2 separate regions of the Homo sapiens genome follow, and region 2 is linked to region 1. The links are contacts of gene promoters, found by promoter capture Hi-C in blood cells and fetal thymus (Javierre and others, 2016). All regions are on one chromosome and are shown on one strand. The core of a region is centred on a gene start or on the middle of the fragment in contact, and the rest is flanking DNA. Distances in the headings are between cores, read along the strand shown. Region 1 holds the start of SPTAN1 (spectrin alpha, non-erythrocytic 1). Region 2 has its middle 2.3 kb from the start of SET.

Region 1 (2,700 bases), core at 57-2,556:
TGTTTTACTTAAGGCCAATTGCTATGACGACGCAATTTCTCAACACATTATGAAAATACTTCATATGGCCTCTCTCCTGTTCTTCCCGAACAGCCATGATGGTAAGTTTTTCTAAAATAACATGATGAAGACAGAACAAAGGGCTTAAATATTTTAGGATCTATTATATAAAAGAGATCTGATTAGATGTTGGAACAGTTCAAGCATCATCTCAACCCAGCTTTCTGAGCTATTTAGGCTTTTCATTTAAAACATATTCAACTTTTAACAAGGCGCTTATTTAAAATATATTTTACTCTAGTACATCAGAGACTTTTGAAAGCGATGTTCTAGGGGAAGCGTCTAATCAAATTCTCAGGGACAGCTTTCAAACAAAAGACTGTTCTATCATTCAACAGTGGTATGGTAGAATTTTTGACACTGTATCTCGACTCGAAAGACCCAGTCCCAGGAAACACACACACAAACAAGAACGCTAAGCTATTAAGTTATTTGATTTGAGCCACATACCATGCAAGCACTGCATTTACCTATTATTTACAAGCAAATCACAACTAGGAAGAAAGAAAAATGTTTATTACAAGGAAAGAAAAGGAGACGGCCAGTCTCAGACCCTTCTGCGTTCAGAGAGACGGCAGAGATTCGCCATGCAGGATGAAATTAAGGTCAGAGAGCCGTTTACGCTATGCTCGGGCTCCCCGGGCTCTTCCTCCCTCTACGGCTGGCCGGCATTGCTGGTGCGATTCGGAAGAACGAGCTGCAGAAGTCGCTCCCGGCCGAGGGAAGGGACCGGGGGCGGTGCGGGGAGCGTTCTGCAGGGAGGCGGCTGGCGAAGATCCCGACGAGGGAGCCCCCACCCACCTGCCGCAGCCGGATGGGGCAGGGCAGGGCCGCGCCGCAGCCAGGCTTGGGGGTGGTTGGGAGGGACCCGGCGGCCTCGCGCCCCCTCCCCCCGTCAGTGACATTCCAGCGGCGGCGCCGAGCCTCGGCCCGGCTGCTCCTCCGCAGCCCACGCGCCACAAAAGCAGCGGCAGCGGCTTCCCCCACTCAGCCGAATGGAGGCAGCCCCGCGGCCCGCCCGGCTCACCTGTCCGCGCGCCGGCCCCGCCCCGCCTGAAGAGCTGCCCAGCTCCCACCCGGGGGTCGGCTGCCCGGGGCCCCGCTCCCTCCCGGAGCTCCCCGGCTGCCCCTCTCACCGGCTCTCGGGGGGTGAGGGGCGTGGGTGCGTCGGGCCGAGGGGTGCTGAAGGACCGAGGAGCCTCCGCGGCCTCCGCTCCACACCGTTCACTCCGCAGCGGGTAGTGGCGGCGACGCGCGCGCCCCGCCTCTTTTATAAGCGGCTACGCGCGCTCCCGCGGCGGGCGGGCGCGAGCGCCGGGGGAAGCGCCCCGGCGCTGCGCGAGGGGTGGGGGAGCGCGCCGGCGGAGCAAAGGGGGCGGTGCTCCCGCCGGCTCGCCGCCCGACCGCCCGGCGGAAAGGGCCGAGCGATCCCGGAAGGAGCCGAAGCGACAATGCGGGGGAAGAGGTGAGCGAGGGGCGGGCCGCGGGAGGATGGGGAAATGGGGCGCGCGCAAGGGGTGAGGGGTGATGGTGCAGTGAGGTCACTGCCTACGCCCTGGCGGTAGAGACGCTCCCGCCTCACCTCCCTCCCCGCAGCTTGCGCCCCGCCACCGCCCGCCCTGCGGACAGTCGTCTGCATCGCACCACTCCGCCCTGGGAGCTCTTCCAGGACTGCGGAGAAGGGCGGGGCGGGGGTATCGCTGCAGTCTGGCTGGGGATGCTGCGCGCCCCGGCCGGAAAAACGCCCAGTCCCAAAGGGTGAGATCACCCGAGTGCGTCTCTTCCTGCTCACTTTCCCGAGGAGGAGGCTGGCGCTGGGGTCCCAAGTCAGCCTAATTCGGTGGGGGCTGGGGTCAAGAAGACGCGGATGATTTGGGGCCCCGGGTTTGAGGAGGTGGTGAGAGGAAAAGGCCAAATCCGAATCAGAAAAAAAATTAAGTCGACTAATTTGGGGCATAAAGCTGTCATTCTGGGATTTGGAGAGTTAATTTCTTATGTTCTTGGAGATTATGGGGGAGGAAACGGCAGCGGCAAAATAATAATTTCTTACATTCCTGCAACAAAAGCTTTCTCACAGGTCGCCAGTGGAATAGGCTACATTCATCCTATTTCATAAACAAGACATTAAGGTTCTTTCTGGCACAATTAATCGAACTTGCCTTGTGTACTAGGCACTATGCTAAGTATTTCGTGTTACCTTTTCATTTCTTAATCTTTGCAATAATTTTATGAGATGTTTTCCCATTTTACAAATGGGCACTCTTACATAATGCTCATGTAGGCTAAGTCTCTTGGCCCAGGTCAGGCAGCTACCAATTGGAAGAGCTAGGATTTACATCTCAGCAGTCAGAACCTTCCCTTTGCAACCGTATGTGTATTGCCTTCAAATAGGAAAGGGAGGCATTTTGATGCGGGTGGCTGCTGGGGTGCAGAAAGAGAAAAATAAGATTCTCAGAATTTCTGATACTTAAAGTCCTAGCAGTTTAAGGTCCTGGCTCTAAACTCTGTAGCCAGAAGCCCTGGATTAGGAAGCCCTTTCCCTATCCCCATTCCGGTGACAGCTGGGCCGCAGCCACTGGGAGTAACACCCAGATCATTCCTGTGCAGTCAGGCAGACGGGGAGCTCTGCAGCTTAGGAAG
Region 2 (2,700 bases), core at 180-2,679, 130 kb before region 1:
CACCCCAAGACATGAACCATAAAAAGCCAGAAAAACCCTGATTAGTAGCATTTGTTTGTTTGTTTTGAGACGGGAGTCTTGCTCTGTCCCCCAGGCTGGAGTGCAGTGGCGCAATCTTGGCTCACTGCAAGCTCTGCCTCTCGGGTTCAAGCAATTCTCCTGCCTCGGCCTCCCGAGTAGCTGGGGCTACAGGCACGTGCCACCATGCCCGGCTAATTTTTGTATTTTTAGTAGAGATGGAGTTTCACCACCTTGGCCAGGCTGGTCTACTGACCTGGGGTGATCCACTCACCTCGTCCTCCCAAAGTGCTGGGATTACAGGCGGGAGCCACTGCGCCCGGCCAGTACCATTTGTTGATTTTAGTGATACGCTGGCCAATTTCAAATCCTGGCCATGCAATAGCTCACTCCTGTTATCCCAACACTTTGGGAGGCCAAGGCAGGAGGATCGCTTGGGCCCAGGAATTCCAGGCTTCAATGAGCCCCAATGCAGCCACTGCACTGAAGCCTGAGTGACAGAGCAAGACCCTATCTCTAAAACAAAAACAAAAAAATACCTGAAATCTCTCTTTGGACATTTTTAACCAGAACTTGGGGTTGGAATTCTGCCTTCCAGAACTCACACTTTACCATTGGCTCTTTTTTTTTTTTTTTTTTTTTGGTGGGGGAGGGGACCAAGTCTCATTCTGTCTTCCAGGCTGGAGTGCAGTGGTGCCATCTCAGCTCACTGCAACCTCCGCCTCCCGGGTTCAAGTGATTCTCCTGCCTCAGCATCCTGAGTTGCTAGGATTACAGATGTGAGTCACCACGCCCTGCTAATTTTTGTATTTTTTGGTAGAGACAGGTTTTCACCATGTTGGCCAGACTGGTCTCAAACTCCTGACCTCAGGTGATCCACCTGCCTCTGCCTCCCAAAGTGCTGAGATTACAGGCATGAGCCACTGAGCTCGGCCCACTATCAGCTCTTAAAGCTCAAGCAGCATCTTTCATGTTCAAGACAGTGCACGGTGAGTGTCTTAGCCTCCCGAGTATCTGGGATTACAGGCGCCCACTACCATGCCAAGCTAATTTTTGTATTTTTTAGTAGAGACGGGGTTTCACCATGTTGGCCAGGCTGGTCTCGAACTCCCGACCTCAGGTGATCTGCCCACCTCGGCCTCCCAAAGTGCTGGGACTACAGGCATGAGCCACCCACTGTGCCTAGCATAAACTAAACTTTGTTGCAAGTGACAGAACCAAGATTCTAAACCAAGTAGCAATTGACAAAGCCCTTACCTTAAAACAGTTTTTCTATTTTTATTGTTGTTATTATTATGAGACAGGGTCTCTCTCTGTCGCCCAGAACCATGGCTCACTGCAGCCTTGACCTCCTGGGCTCTGGGGATTCTTACACCTCAGCCTTCTGAGTAGCTGGGACCACAGGCAAGCACCACTGCCACCTTGCCTGGCTAATTTTGTTTTTATCTTTTGTAGAGAGGAGGTATCACCATGTTGCCCAGGCTGGTCTCAAACTCCTGAGCTCAAACCATCCTTCAGCCTCAGCCTTCCAGAGCTCTGGGATTACAAGAGTTAGCCATCGCACCCTGCCTCAGTTTTTTTAATGTGACCAACAGTCAGAAGTACTTTTGACATCATGACCTAGCACACACAAACCAAAACTTACCCTTACCAAGGGTGATGTGATTCTAATTTCCTATTTAAAATGCAGGTCACACCCCACCAAATTGATTTCACGACCCGCTCCTGGGCTGAGTCTGTCTGAGAACACTATGCCAAGGGCTGGCTGCTTCCATCCTCAAAGCCTGACCCATAGGGTCACTCCTGACCCACAATGTCTCCTAAGTGCCTTATCTGCCTGTTTCCCAAGCACCTGCAGGGGTCCCAGGGAACCCTGTAATGCCTTCTGATGGGGGAGTGGGCTTTCAGGTTCCCTTTCTGGCCTCCCAACCCTCCCTGCCACCTCCCTGCCCCTCTTTTCCTGCCCTTCCCCACACAGTGCTTCTCAAGATAAATATGAGCACACTAGGAAGTTGAAGAGAAAGAGAAAGCAAAAGGGCCAGGGGTGTGAGTAAACACAGGCGAGCCGGGGGCACACTGAGAGGTTATTCACCCACTCTTAGGACTCTGCTCTCTCCCCGTCTCCAACACCAGAAGCTCTGCATTCTCTCTTCTTGGCCTCTCCCCTCACTCAGAATTCCTCCCTTGCCTCTCTCCTCTCCTCCTGGCCCCTCTGGTTGTTTTTTTTTTTGTTGTTGTTGTTGTTGTTCTTGTCGCCCAGGCTGGAGTGCAATGGCACGAACTCGGCTCATTGCAACCTCCGCCTCCGGAGTTCAAGCAATTCTCCTGCCTTAGCCCCCCAAGTAGCTGGGATTACAGGCATGCATCGTCACGCCTGGCTAACTGTCTTTGGTAGAGATGGGGTTTAGCCATGTTGGCCAGGCTGGTCTTGAACTTCTGACCTCAGGTGATCTGCCCACCTCGGCCTCCCAAAGTGCTGGGATTACAGGCGTCAGCCACCGCGCCCGGCCCCCGGCTCCCTTTGAAGAGGACAGAACCCCACCGCCAGAAAGACTGGAACAGAGAGAGGCTGGCATTCCCCCACAGTGCTGCAGTGTCCCAAGCACAGACCAAAAAATCTCCAGAGCCTGGAACATCTCCCCCGCCACAGACACATACACATCTCTTTGAGCCTCCTGTTCT

The links. The method cuts DNA at HindIII sites, captures the fragments that hold promoters and counts their contacts. A CHiCAGO score of 5 or more calls a contact.
Region 2: a fragment that was not itself captured here is called in contact with the fragment with the promoter of SPTAN1 in region 1 in 1 of 17 cell types (M2 macrophages); the score reaches 5.6 in M2 macrophages.

The regions. Positions count from the first base shown.
Region 1 is chr9:128,551,193-128,553,892 of GRCh38, reverse strand. SPTAN1 (spectrin alpha, non-erythrocytic 1) reads right to left here and starts at 1,306. Exons shown (of 57, transcript NM_001130438.3): 1 at 1,197-1,306. LOC101929270 (a long non-coding RNA gene) reads left to right here and starts at 1,480. Exons shown (of 4, transcript NR_188457.1): 1 at 1,480-1,525. RefSeq lists a silencer at 893-1,662. The HindIII fragment of the contact is 3,549 bases long and covers 1-2,128 here.
Region 2 is chr9:128,685,578-128,688,277 of GRCh38, reverse strand. It overlaps a transcript of SET not described here. Among named protein-coding and RNA genes, the nearest start is that of SET, 2.3 kb to the left of the region's middle. RefSeq lists enhancers at 1-759, 2,110-2,209, 2,250-2,339. The HindIII fragment of the contact is 3,602 bases long and covers 1-2,700 here.